Regions from separate parts of the Homo sapiens genome. Here region 1 is linked to region 2. The links are contacts of gene promoters, found by promoter capture Hi-C in human tissues and cell types (Jung and others, 2019). All regions are on one chromosome and are shown on one strand. Each heading gives the region's core, a stretch centred on a gene start or on the middle of the fragment in contact. The rest is flanking DNA. Distances are from core to core; before and after follow the strand shown. Region 1 overlaps SH3GL1 (SH3 domain containing GRB2 like 1, endophilin A2). Region 2 holds the start of TNFAIP8L1 (TNF alpha induced protein 8 like 1).

What was found. The method cuts DNA at HindIII sites, captures the fragments that hold promoters and counts their contacts. A contact is called where the count stands out against the background at its distance.
Region 1: a fragment that was not itself captured here is called in contact with the fragment with the promoter of TNFAIP8L1 in region 2 in 1 of the 25 tissues and cell types used here (dorsolateral prefrontal cortex).

Annotation. Positions count from the first base shown.
Region 1 is chr19:4,358,626-4,365,598 of GRCh38, forward strand. It overlaps SH3GL1 (SH3 domain containing GRB2 like 1, endophilin A2), which reads right to left. Exons shown (of 10, transcript NM_003025.4): 4 at 6,857-6,973; 5 at 5,463-5,596; 6 at 5,095-5,253; 7 at 4,745-4,848; 8 at 3,987-4,111; 9 at 3,704-3,760; 10 at 1,745-3,171. The coding sequence ends at 2,975. MPND (MPN domain containing) reads left to right here. Exons shown (of 13, transcript NM_001300862.2): 12 at 538-630; 13 at 1,291-1,453. The coding sequence ends at 1,377. Among named protein-coding and RNA genes, the nearest start is that of MPND, 19 kb to the left of the region's middle. The HindIII fragment of the contact is 4,746 bases long and covers 1,995-6,740 here.
Region 2 is chr19:4,636,588-4,642,863 of GRCh38, forward strand. TNFAIP8L1 (TNF alpha induced protein 8 like 1) reads left to right here and starts at 2,929. Exons shown (of 2, transcript NM_152362.3): 1 at 2,929-3,042. RefSeq lists silencers at 2,450-2,529, 2,590-3,029 and an enhancer at 2,930-3,929. The HindIII fragment of the contact is 40,660 bases long and covers 1-6,276 here.

The sequences.
Region 1 (6,973 bases), core at 3,118-5,617, 280 kb before region 2:
AAGATAGAAAAGCTAGCCAGGAGTGGTGGCGGGTGCCTATAGTCCTAGCTACTTGGGAGGCTGAGGCAGGACAAGCTCTTGAACCCGGGAGGTGGAGGTTACAGTGAGCCGAGATCACGCCACTGCGCTCCAGTCTGGGCCACAGAGTGAGACCCTACCTCAAGGAAAAAACCCAACAAAACCTAAACTAGTTCGTCAAACCTGTGACCTCACAGGTGTCACTGCTGGGGATGAGGCCGAACCAGGGGGCCACGTCAGGCCCGCGTGGTTCTGGAGAACTGGGCTCGGTGAGTGCAGGTCCAGGTGGACCTCTCGTGGCAGCCACTTGGGCAACGCTGCTGCCTCCCCCTCGAGAGAGCCCTCCTGGACCTAAGCTAGGTGAGCCCTCTGGCTAAGGTCACTCGTGATCTCTTTGTGGTTGGTTTGTTAGTGATGGGGTCATGTCTCAGGGCTGCCTGAGACTGGAACCCCAGGAGAGGCGCTGAGGTACCTCAGGCTTGGAGGGAGCCTGGGAGTCCATGCTCCTCTGTCCTGTAGATGCTGCTGGTGGAGTTCTACAAGGGTTCCCCTGACCTCGTGAGGCTCCAGGAACCCTGGAGCCAGGAGCACACCTACCTCGACAAGCTTAAGGTGAGCCCCAAGTCCCCGCAGACCTCCTAACGGGGCCCCAGGAGAGGCCCCCTGGGCAGCCTAAAAGGTGGCAGCAATGAGCCCCGTGGGCCTCAGGGGCCTGAGACAGCCCAGCTGGCAGACTGGTGACCCTGGTCACCCCGTGGCCACCCCAGCAGGGTGCAGGCCAGATTTGATTGGACTGTGGAGCTTTAAGCTCCGGCAGTGCCGGATGAGGTCCTGGCAGCGGGTTTTGGGAGTGGCTCCCCTGCAGAGGGCCCAGGGTCCTGGCCACCCCTGAGTGTCTTAGGGTAGTGGTTCCTGGTTTCCCTCCACCTGGCATAGAAAGGGACTCATTCTGCTCAGCTCTCGGCTAGCTGTGGAGGCTGTGGTGTCCCCATGGGTGTCTGGAACCAGGCAGGGAGGGGCTGAAGTGGGGGCAGGATCGGGAGTGTGCACATAAGCCCCACCCCTCCACACAGCACCGCTGCCCCTGGGAGCCAGGCCCTCGGTTACATACTGCCCCACTGGGTAAGCAGCAGGCTGTGCTGCGGGACCCCAGCCCTGTGCCTCGGTCTCAGGGGGGCTCAGTCAGGATGCTGGACTTGCACGGTGGACTGTGAGGCGCAGGGCTGGCTAGGACCCCCGGGCACAGCCTGAGGCCCAGCCCCCTCGTTTCAGATCTCCTTGGCCAGCAGGACGCCCAAGGACCAGAGCCTGTGTCACGTCCTGGAACAGGTGTGCGGCGTCCTCAAGCAGGGGAGCTGAGCCTTCCAGGGCAGGGTGGGCTCCAGTTGTCTTGAGGGTCCGGATGGGCTCAGGTAATAAAGAAACGGAAGCAGCAGCCAGCCACGCTGGTCTCCCCAAGGCTGGGGTGAGGGTGGCTGGGTGCCCAGGCTGGTACCATCACCCCAGCTTCCTCACTTCCAGGGCAGGGCATTAACTTCCAGGATACCCCTCAGCCCCTGCACCTGGGAACTGGCACAAAAGCCTCAGGGCCAGTCCCACCCACCTTGGGCTCAGGAGCACCTGGGGTGCTGGAGGGACCTCCTGGGGTGTGTGTGGCTTTGGAGCCGGCCCCTCAGGAAGGCGGTGGGTGGCAGGCCCACCCCTGCACCAAGACGAGGCAAGGGGCTGTAGAAAGAGACATTTAATACTTCTGTTTACAAAATTCAGGCGTACATTTCAGTTTGCCCTGGACCGTGCCCAAAGCTGTGTGCTCATCTCTGCGCCCCTCATGTACTTCTGACGAGGGGGGTGCAGGGCAGGGCAGAGCAGAGCCTGGGGTCCGGAGGCTTCACTGGACCACAGGGGGAGGGGAATGTGAATGTGGCCTGGCCCAGAGAACTCCCCATTTCATCGATTTTGCATTGGGCGATAGAGGAAGCAGATGTCGGGGCTGCCTGCCTTGGTCTAGAGGAGATGGCTGGGGCCACTTCCCACAGGGTGAAGTGGCAGCGGCTCAGCAAGGGGAGCCTGGCCACCAGGGGCTGGGACATGCGCTCACTGGAACCTTTGTGCTTGGCCCTCGGCAGCGCGGCTGTGGTCCCGTGTGAGGTGTGCTGGGGTGGGTGTGGGTGGCTGGTGGTGGCAGCTTGTGCCAGAGTGACACAGGCCTCCCTGGGTTGGGATGGGGGCAGTTAAAAAGCTGAAAAGGTACTTGGCTTTCTGAGGGCGGGGCTTGGGAGGCAGGGCCCTGCAGGAGACCATGTTCTCTGTCCTCAGGCAGATCCCAGCTGGCCTCTGTCCCCGGGCTGCAAGCTGACAGCAGGCCCGGGAGGCGGTGAGGCCCTCTGCCCTGGCCTTGAGGAGAAGGAGTGCGTGTGTGAGGCGGGGGTGCATTGGCCCTGGAGTAGGGCCAGGGCCCATCACCAGCACCAGGCTGGGAGGGATTTAAAACCAGGGTCCTATCTCTGAGCCACCCCATGGGGACCCTCGATCCCATCCTGTTAAGGCTGCGGGACTCGAGGGTAGGCAGTGGGCCGGGCCCCCGTCGGGTCAGGACGGAGGTGGGGGCTGCCCCAGAGGAACATTAGTGTTTCTAAGAGCACCTTAGTGTTGCCCCGCCTCGGCCAGCTGGGCGAGAAGTTGGGGAGCGGGGGAGGAGGCTGGCGCCATGGAGTGGGGAAGGGAGCCGTCACCGTTGGGAGTCAGCGCTAGTGTAAACAGGCATCCCCACCCACCCAGATAAGCCCCCCCACCCAAGTGTGGGGTCCTGCTCAGGGAGTACCTCAAGGGCCGGGGCCCAGGTGGCGCCGGCAGGCTCAGACACCGCCCTGGCAGCAGGGGCTCCGTGGAATGCAGGAGACCCAGCAGGGGGTGCCGGCCAGTGTGGACGGAGGGGCGGGGCGGGGACACGGGTGAGTCACTGCGGCAGGGGCACAAGCACCTCCACGTAGCTGAGCGGGAAGAAGCCCGACTGGCCGTCCAGCATGCCCTCGTACCAGTTCTCATCGATCTGGTTGGTCAGCGTGATGACGTCGCCCTCATGGAAGCCCAGCTCCCCGTCGTTCTCGGGCTCGAAGTCGTACAGCGCCTTGCAGCTCGGCTGGTCCAGGGGCGCTGGGGGCGGGAGCGGGCTGTGGGGCTGGGGCTGCTACGCCTCACCCCGCCCAGTCTGGGGTCTCAGACCTGCTGTGACCTGGAGCGTGTGGGTGGGCATGGGCCTCCCCTCTGCCCTGCCTGGGCCACCCCCTGCCCCTGCCACTTCTGGGGTCCGGCCTCTACTGCCACCCAGGAGGGAGGATGGGAGAAGCTTGGTTTAAGTGGTCACCAAAGCTACTCCTGGGAAGTGCTGGGGACACCCGGTGCTGCTGCGGTGACAGGGAGTGACCAGATGCCCTCAAGCCCTTGTAGCCACCACACAGCCTAGAGCTAGCTGGGCTAGTGCCCTTGGCAATCCCTCATTCACACTGTGAGGCTGAGACCCAGAGGGGTGGCATCTTGCAGGCTGTGGGGCCTGTGCCCCCTACTGCTGCACGAGCCTGGCCCCTCCCTGCTTGAGATGGGCAGAGAACAGGGCGGGAGGAGAAACACCCTCCCCGAATGGCCGAGAAGGCAGCACTGAGGTCGAGGCGGGCCTGGGAACACTCACGCATGCTCCGGCTAGGGGTCCGGATGGGCTTGTCGGAAGATCGGAAAGACGATGAAGCTAAACACAAGCAAAACGAGGAGGCTGTGGGCTCAAAACGGTCGGGCAGGGCCCCTTCTGCAGAAGGCTGGGGCCAGCCCTTCCCGTCTGCCTTGGCGGTCCAGATGGAGCACGGCTGAGAGCTGCACCCAGGAGTCTGGCGCTCAGAGACCCAGGACAGGGCCAGCCCTTGGCCACTCCCACCCGCTGGCATTTGCCTCCGCAAGAGGGCTCCATGCCCCATTACCTGCGATCTTGGGGGCTGTGGTGCAGGGGAAGCCCCCGTTGGACTGCTCAGGCTCTCCAAGGTCAAAGGGCTCCCGGGGCTTGGGCTTATACTCCCGCTTAGGGCGTGAGGAAGCTTCCCGCATCCTGTGAAGGGAGAGGCGTGAGTGGACCGAGCCCGTGTCACGGCCGAGGCAGCCCCACTCTTGTATTTATGCTGCTGCCTAATGACCTGGCCTGGGACTGCAGGAAGAGGCCGTCAGTGGGGTTGTGACACATGGACCCTGGGACACAGCTAGACTGGGATGTCTACCCAGAGGGCCTCCAGCCTGGACCCCCACCTTGGAGGCATCCCAGAGATTGCCAAGCAGCTGGGGCCTGCCACAGCATCTACCTACAACACCCCCAGTCGCATCCCCTGCCTCCTCCCCCAATTCCCCACCACGGACGGCGCCCCACATACGCCAAGGCCCCTGAAGCAGGTCTGGCCTCTGCATTCAGGGAGGGGAGCCTGGGTGTTCCTGTGGCAGCAGCAACGTGCAGCCAGGGAGGGAGTCCCCGGGGCCTGCATCGGGGCAGGGCTGGGTGTTGACTCAGAGTTCTCAGAGCCCCAGCTCCTCTGACCTCGCGGCCCCCCAGGCCTTTCCACTCAGTCCCCAGGAAGAATCCAGGATGCTGCTCTGCCATGTGCTCACCCCACAGCGAGGTGTGCTGCCCACTTGCGCTGGCAGAGGGCGCATGGCAGCCCAGACTCTGGAGAGACCAAGGCCCTGGGCTCACCTGCGCTTGAGCTTCTCCGCCAGCTCGTCCAGGATCTGCACGGCCTGCCGGTGGTAGTCCAGCTGTGCATCCACCAGGGCCGAGAGCTGACTCACCTGCTCGATCTGTGGGGACAGTAGGGCTCAGGGGCTCCTGCCAGTGCCACTGTCCTGTGCCTTCCCTGACTCCCGAGGTGAAGCCACAGGAGGCAAGGGGGCTGAGAGGGGACAGGGGACTGGGGCCCATACCCTCCACCTCCCCTGCTGCAGCGGCCAGGTAGGTGCCGATCTGTCCTCCAGCTCCCTTGAGGCACCACCCCGGCCTCCCAAGGGCATAGGTCTTCTCAGGATGTGACACCCCGAGCTACTCACGTCAGTCTCCAGGAGGTTGTGCATGCTGGTTTCTGCCACCTCCTTGGACTCCTCGAACTTCTCCAGCGCCTGGCGTAGCTCCTCATCGGGGATCTTGCCCTGCCGCTTCTTCTTGTAGTCAAAGTCCAGGCGGCGGCCCTCCAGTTTCTTCAGGTGGTGCTGGAGACGTGGGGGACATGGGTCACACCAGTAGCGGCCAGAGGGCCGCCCCACGCATGGCTTTGACCCACTGTCCCTGCACCACTGGGGATCCTGCCTGCCTGAGACCCAGAGGGCAGTGCCGAGGCTGGAGGTGAGGGTGGCAGGAATGGGGCTGCCCCATCCGGCAGGGGGAAGGGACAGGCCCCAGGCTGGCGCAGGAGCAGCACCTGGATCTCCTTCAGGTCTTTCTCGCACAGGTTCTGGAGGGGGTCAATGAAGTTCTGCTTGACCTCGATGTCCAGGGAGTCCTTCACCTCTGCCAGGCGCTTCATGGACTCGCCGGCATCCAGCAATGCGTCACCTGTGGAGAAGTGGTGGGGGAAGCCATCATACCGGGCCTGGGACCACTAGACTGAGACACTCCTCAGCCTTTGTTTTTGAAATAGCGTTTCACAGGCTGGAACGCAGTGGCGCTGTACCAGCTCACTGCAGGCCTCAAACTGGGCTCAAGCCATGCTGGCACCTCAGCCTCCCAAGTAGCCGGGACCACAGGCGTTCACCCCCACACCTGGATCCTTTCCAACTTCTTTGAGATGAAGTCTCGCTGTTGCCCAGGCTGCAGTGCAGTGGCATGATCTCAGCTCACTGCAACCTCTGCCTCCCAGGTTCAAGCAATTCTCCTGTCTCAGCCTCCTGAGTAAGGGGGATTACAGGGGCCTGCCACCACATCCAGCTAATTTTTGTATTTTTAATAGAGACGGGGTTTCACCATATAGACCACACCGGTCTCGAACTCCTGACCTTGTGATCCGCCCGCCTCGGCCTCCCAAAGTGTTGGGATTACAGGCGTGAGCCACCGCACCCGGTTTTTGTTTTGTTTTGTTTTGTTTTGTTTTTTCATAGTCTCGGCTCACTGCAACCTCCACCTCCTGGGTTCAAGTGATTCTCCTGCCTCAGCCTCCCGAGTAGCTGGGGTTACAGGCATGCACTACCACACCCGGCTAATTGTGTGTGTGTGTGTGTGTGTGTGTGTGTGTGTATATATATATATATATATTTTTTTTTTTTTAGTAGAAGCGGGGTGGGGTTTCTCCATATTGGTCTTGCTGGTCTCGAATTCCCGATCTCAGGTGATCCACCTGCCTTGGCCTCCCAAAGTGTTGGGATTACAGGCATGAGCCACCACACTTGGCCCCATCCCAACTTCTAACAGCCCCCCAACACTCTAAGCCCAGGGCCCGGAAATTGGAACTCAGGGCAAAACAAAGGATCCTAAAATCCGAATCGATGCTGGACGTTAAACCAGACCCTCCAATGCTCCTAAAAGGGCCTAGGTTTGCCCTTAACAGGTGGAAGGACAGATGCTGGGGGGTCCAGGCCCTGGGGAAGCAGCTGGCTTGAGTTGGGGAAGGTCTGGAGCTACAGGAAGGGGCCCTATCAGCTGCTGGCCAGTGCTGGATGGGTTGGTCTGTGCAGTCTCCTGCACCTCTGCAGCTGGAAAGCTGTGGGGGCCACTGTACGTCCCCGGCACTCAGCACATGCAGGGCCTGGACCTGCCCTGCCTGTGTTGAGGTGTGGCCTCCAGGGACGGTGGGCGTGGCTTCCAGAGAGCACCACTCACCAAAGTTGGACTCGCCGCCCAGCTCCTTCCCGTGGCGGATCATGCACTCGCCCAGAAGCCCCTCCGACTGCGGGTAGCCGGGGTTCTTCACCTGGCCCCGGATCTTGGACACCGTGT
Region 2 (6,276 bases), core at 1,679-4,178:
CTCAATCCCAGTAGAGCTGGGACCTGGGCTGAGACCCCAACTTTGGATAGAGCCTCTGATCTGTCTTTGAGCCCTGGTCCTGAGCCAAGCCTCAAACTCCAATAGAGTCTCCATCGACCTGAGCTCCCAACTCAGGGCTGAGCCCCCCTCTAGGCTGAGGTCTGATACGGAATAGAGCCTGCGACCCCTTCTAAATCCCGACTCTGGGCTGAGCCTGGACCCTCGATAGAGTCTCCAACTCTAGGCTGAACCCTAACCCTGGGCTGCACCCTTACTGTAGACAGAGCCCAATCCCAGCAGAGGCCCTATTCTCACTAAGCCCCATCACCCAGTAAGCCTGCATTCCCGGCCAAGATCATCCCTCCCCCACCCCTAACACCCACTGAACCCTAGCCCTCCCGAGTCCCAACCTTCTTATCTGATACAGAAAAGAGACCAGGTGTGGTGGTTCTTGCCTGTAATCCCAGCGCTTTGGGAGGCAGAAGCAGGAGGATCGCTTGAGGCTAGGAGTTCGAGACCAGCCTGGGCAACATAGTGAGACACCCCCTATCTCTATTTAAAAAAATAAAAATTAGCCGAGCTTGGTGGTGCACACCTGTGATTTCAGCTACTTGGGAGGCTGAGGCAGAAGGATTGCTTGAACCCAGGAAGTTGAGACTGCAGTAAGCTGTGACTGCACCACTGCATTCCAGCCTGGGTGACAAATCGAGACCCTGTCTAAAAAAAAAGAAAGAAAGAAAAAAGGTGAAATCATGCTAGGCTCAGATGCCTCCAGTCCTCCTGCCCTGATGGGGAGACCCCCTTGATGCTGGGGTTGCGAGAGGAGCTGTACACACCACACCAAAGTCAGACCTAATCAGGTCCTAATCCCATCTCTGCCTCATCTGGCTGTGTGGCCTGGAACCTATCCCTTCCTCCCTCTGGGGTTCCATTTCGTCATCTGTGAAATGGGACAGTCACTCCTGACTCTACCACCTTGTGCCTGTGTGACCTCAGGCAAGTTACTTCCTCTCTCTGGGCCTCAGTCTCCTCCTCCAAAATGAAATAAGAAGGTGTTTTGTTTTGTTTCTTGAAACAGAGTCTCGCTCTGTCGTCCAGGCTGGAGTGCAGTGGCGCGATCTCGGCTCACTGCAACCTCTGCCTCCTGGGTTCAAGTGATTCTCGTGCCTTAGTCTCCCAAGTAGCTGGGACTACAGGCGTGCACCACCACTCCTGGCTAATTTTTTCATATTTTTGCTTTATTTTTTATTTTTTGAGATGGACTCTTGCTTTGTAGCCCAGGCTGGAGTGCAGTGCCGCGATCTCGGCTCACTGCAATCTCTGCCTCTGGGGTTCAAGCAATTCTAGCACCTCAGCCTCCCGAGTAGCTGGGACTACAGGCGTGCACCACCACGACCAGCTAATTTTTTTTTTTTGTATGTTTTATTTTTTGAGATGGAATTTTGCTCTGTCGCCCCGGCTGGAGTGCAGTGGCCCGATCTTGGCTCACTGCAACCTCTGCCTCCAGAGTTCAAGCGATTCCCCTGCCTCAGCCTCCTGAGTAGCTGGGATTACAGGCATGTGCCACCACACCCGGCTAATTTTTGTATTTTTAGTAGAGACGGGGTTCCACGATGTTGTCCAGGCTGGTCTCAAACTCCTGACCTCAGGTGATCCGCCCACCTCGGCCTCCCAAAGTGCTGGGATTACAGGGGTGAGCCACCGGGCCCAGCCAATGAGATATTTAACTTACTTTTGCCTCCTGAGGCCTGTGCCTCGGTCTTCCTGAATCCCGTGTGCAGGTCAGGACACACAACAGGCCCTCAACAATTTGTTGTCTGGCTTCCTGGAGGAAGAAGCAGCGAGGTTGCTATGGGCTCCCTAGGCCCTAGCTGCAACCGGGACCCAGAGTTGGGCTGCAGGGCGGAAATGGTGCTGCAGGGGACCTGGGAGCAGCTCCAGGGCCTGGTTCCCAGGACTCACAGCTGCATCCTCCCCGGGGGACCCCAGCTGGCGCTGCGCAGCCGGGAGGCTCCTGTGTGTCCTGCAGGCTCATTCCTACGGAAATCGAGGCTGGACCTGGGGATCCTCTGATGAGGTCTCCAGGAGCCCTCCACCTCACCCCAAAGATTCATCTATAGCCCCACAACCCTGGGTTAGATTCATCCCTTCTTGTGGCACAGAACTCTGTATTTTTAAAATTTTAACTTATTTTGATCTTCTTCTTTTTCTTTCTTTCTTTTTTTTTTTTTTTTTGTAGAGACAGGGTCTCCCTAGGTTGCCCAGGCTGGTTTCAAACTCCTGGGCTCAAGGGATCCTCCTGCCTTGGCCTCCCAAAGTGCTGGGATTCCAGGCGTGAGGCACCACACCTAGTTGGAATCTGCATTTTAAAATGGACTCTCAGATCTTTCTGACGCGAAGGGTTCCCCGAGGCCGTACTTTGAGAAACACGCTTCTGCCGAAATTCCTATTACCCAGGCGGGTAAACTAGCCCCAGAAGGAGGAAGGGGCCCGTGCAGAACCACGTGGTTGGTCTGTTTTGCCTTTTGGCTCTCTGGTCTCTTCCTGTTGGTGTCTCTGTGCCTCCCTCCCCAGGTTCTCTGTCTGTCTCGTACTCTTATCTCTTCCCTTTTCTGTGGCCGGCACCCCCACGACGGCCTCGCCCCCGCATCCGGGCCCCTTCGCGATTCCGGAGGAATCCCCCAGAGCCGCCTGACCCCGCCCCCAGGCTCCGCCCCTTCCCCCCACTTCCCCCCCGTCGCAGTGCCCTGCTCCCATTGGCCTTTTCGTACATTGCCCGCCCTGTCATTGGCTAATCCGGAGCGCTCGGCCCGCCCCCCAGGCCTGGCAACTCTCCGGTCCCTTCCGCGCGGGCGGGGCGAGTGGAGGGCGTGGCCTGCCGAGGGGCGAGGCGAGTGGAGGGCGGGGCCGCGCTGCCCGCCCCGCCCCGGCCCCGGCCCCGGCTCCGGCGCTGCTCCCACCGCCGCGGCAACGGCCCCGGCCCACGGAGGCGGCTGGACGGACCCCCGACGGTTGGACGTACGGACTCTGCTTCGAGAGTAGGTGAGCGAGCAGTGCCGGGGCGCCCCCCATTTCAGCGCATCTCGGGGGCCACCTGGCCGCCCTCTGTCTCTCCCGCCCCTTAATGCTTCTGCACCCCACCGCCTGTCCGTCTACATTCCTGCCTCAGTTTCCGTCTGTCTCTCTGTCACTCTCGCTGTATAGGTTAGGGGGAGACAGATTGAGTCTCAATTGCCCCCCTTGGCGTGGGGCTCTGCTCTGGGACCAGCACCCCCATCCCCCATGTGGACTCTAGTGGACTCTGCCCCCTTTAACTGTAGGGCCGCAGGTGCTCAGGCCAGATTCCAGAACCCTGAGGGCATTCCAGGCGGTGGGCAGCTGGGCCAGCCGTGCGGAGGTGGGCATGACTGTAGCTTCTAGCTAAACCAGGCATCGGTCCAGGCATCGGTGGCGGGGAGCCAGGCCTAGGCCAGCCCGGGCCCACCCAGACTGGCCCCTAATGAGCTCCCAAGTGGCCTGTGGGGACTTGGCCTCAGTTTTGCCAGCTGTGAACTGGGACCGTCGCTGCTAAGGTAATTGGCAGGTGATCTGAAGGACACCTGCCGCCTCCTGGCCTTTTCTGTGAAGTCGAACTAGGCCCATTTCCTGGGATGGGAAACTAAGGCCTAGAAAGAGGCCAATGCTTCCAATGTTTGTCCAGGGAAGTGGGGACAGAGGCAGGACAGAATCTGTTTTCTCTGCATCCTCACATTTCCCAGCACCTTCTCTATGGAGGGGGGAAGGGCTGGTGGAGGAGCAGCCCCAGGTGTAAACAGGCCGCCAGAGTTTATTTCCTGAGCCAGTCCCAGCTCAGCTGGAGGCGATGAACGCCTTGGGAGGCCCCAGGGGGGCCAGCCCAGTGGTGGCGGAGCTTGGACCAATCTAGGTTTGAGCTCTGCCACCCGCATGATATCTTGAACCAGTTTTTCAATTCTGCGGAGCCTCAGTTTCCTCATCTGTAAAACAGGAGTGGGTCGTAACTCCCCAAGTTGAGGGCTGCTGGGGGATCAGATGCAGGAATACAGGCCCTGCTCATAACCTGCCTGACTCTCGCTGTGGCTCTGCCCCAGTCACACTGGCCTCCTCCTGTTTCTCCAACACCCCAGGCGAGGTCCTCTCTCAGGGCCTTTGCATGGGCTGTGCCCTCTGCCACTACGGCAGGTCCGAGGGCGCCAACTTTGAAACATAACAAGCTCCCTGGATGGGCCGGACCCAGGACCTGCACAGGCAAGGGCTGGGAGGGGCAGAGGAGGGGCCGCTCAGGGACGCTGTACCTATGGAAACCGTGAACAAAGGGCTGTCTCCAGCCACACAAACACCTGGGTGAATCGGGCACTGGCCAGAGGCTGGAGCAGCCTGGGATACAGGTGGTGGGTGAGTGCCTGGACCCCTGCAGGGAATATGGGGCCGGGGGGGGGACTTGAACCCTGCTCCAATGGTGGGGTGGCTCTGCAGACGGGTGCAGGTCTGAGGCCCCGCGGTACGGCCCCTCCCACTGTGTGGCCTTGGACCGACGGTCAGGTGCCCCCAGAGCCTCAGTTTCCTCATCCCCGTTCCCCCAGGGGTCAGCCCAGGTGGGTGAGGGGTCTTTTGATTGCTTGACAATTCAGTATGGTGGGTTCCGGAGGCCTCAGTGTCCCTGTCTGTCCAATGGGGCCACGAAAGGGTGCCTTGAGGACAAAACTCCAGCCGTTGACAGGGGAACACTCCTCCCAGAGAGACGTCAACGCTAAAAAATGACTCACACTTGCCCAGGTACAGCTCAGGTGTTACAGACGGGGAGCAGGGCAAGGAGGCAGAGCGAGAGGCAGGAACGGCCCAGTTCCACAGCATGCCTGCCCCTTCCCAGCATCTCCCGACACCCCTCAGCAGATGACCTCCCTGGAATCACACCCGCTCGAGCTTTGACGCAGGGACCTCTGGCAGAGTTCTTGGGATCTTGTAAATCCCCAGCTTCTAGGCCTCAGTTTCCCCATCTGTCCAATGGGGCTGGTCATCTCCTTTTTCTTGTGGGGCTGAGATAACTGTGGGGAGGGAGGGTGCTTTGAGGGGTGGGGGAGATTCAACAAGATATTGTTAAAAGCCCGAGGAGGGGATTACAGGACACAGTACTTCTAGAAGCTTCCTAAGGCTTCGATCCTTCCCCTCTGGGGTGGGCTCTGGGAGAGACGAGACTTGAACCCCAAATGTGCCATTGACTAGGATGAGGAAAGGATTGCACTAGGTTAAAGGCTGGGTTCAAATTCTGATTCTGCCACATCACTGCTTTATAAACAGGCAAGCTCCTGACCCTCTGTGACTCAGTTTCCTTATAACCAAAAACTTGCAGGTCCATCTAGAGAATTTCCCAGCCTGGGCAACATGGTGAAACCCTGTCTCTACTTAAAACAAAGAAAAAAAAATTAGCCAGGTGTGGTGTCGCAGGCCTGTAGTCCCAGCCACTCTGGAGGCTGAGGTGGGAGGATCACCTGAGCCCAGGGAGGTTGAGGCTGCAGTGAGCCGAGCTCATGCCACTGCACTTCAGCCTGGGCGACAGGAGTGAAACCCTGTCTCAAAGAAAAAGAAGAGAATTGGCTGGGCGCCGTGGCTCACGCCTGTAATCCCAGCACTTTGGGAGGCTGAGGTGGCCGGATCACCTGAGGTCAGGAATTCGAGACCAGCCTGGCCAAGAGGGCAAAACCCTGTCTCTACTAAAAATACAAAAATGAGGCGGGCGTGGTGGTGGGTGCCTGTAATCCAGCTACTCAGGAGGCTGAGGCAGGAGAAACACTTAAACCCAAGAGGCAGAGGTTGCAGTGAGCCGAGATTGCACCACTGCTCTCCAGCCTGGGTTGACAGAGTGTGAGACTCCATCTCAAAAAAAAAAAAAAAATTAAAAATATACACATAAAATAAATAAAATAGATGGGGGATCTGGGAGGGCTTCCTGAGGAGGGGCCATGTAAACCCAGACCTGGATGACAAGAAGGAAACAGCCATGTGGAGACCTGGGAGAAGAGCAGCTCAGGCAGAGGGCACAGGTTGTGTAAAGGCCCTGGGGCAAGATGGCGCCTGGCATGGTAGAGGAGCAGCAAGGAGGCCCGTGGGGCTGGAGCAGTGAGGAGGAGGAGAGAGGGAGGAGGGGAGGGCAGGGAGGGGACAGGGCAGGGTGCGCAGGATCTTATGGGCTGCCAGGAATACTTGGCTTTGACCCCAAGGGAGGTGGGAGCCATGGAGGGTGGTGGGCAGGGGAAGGAT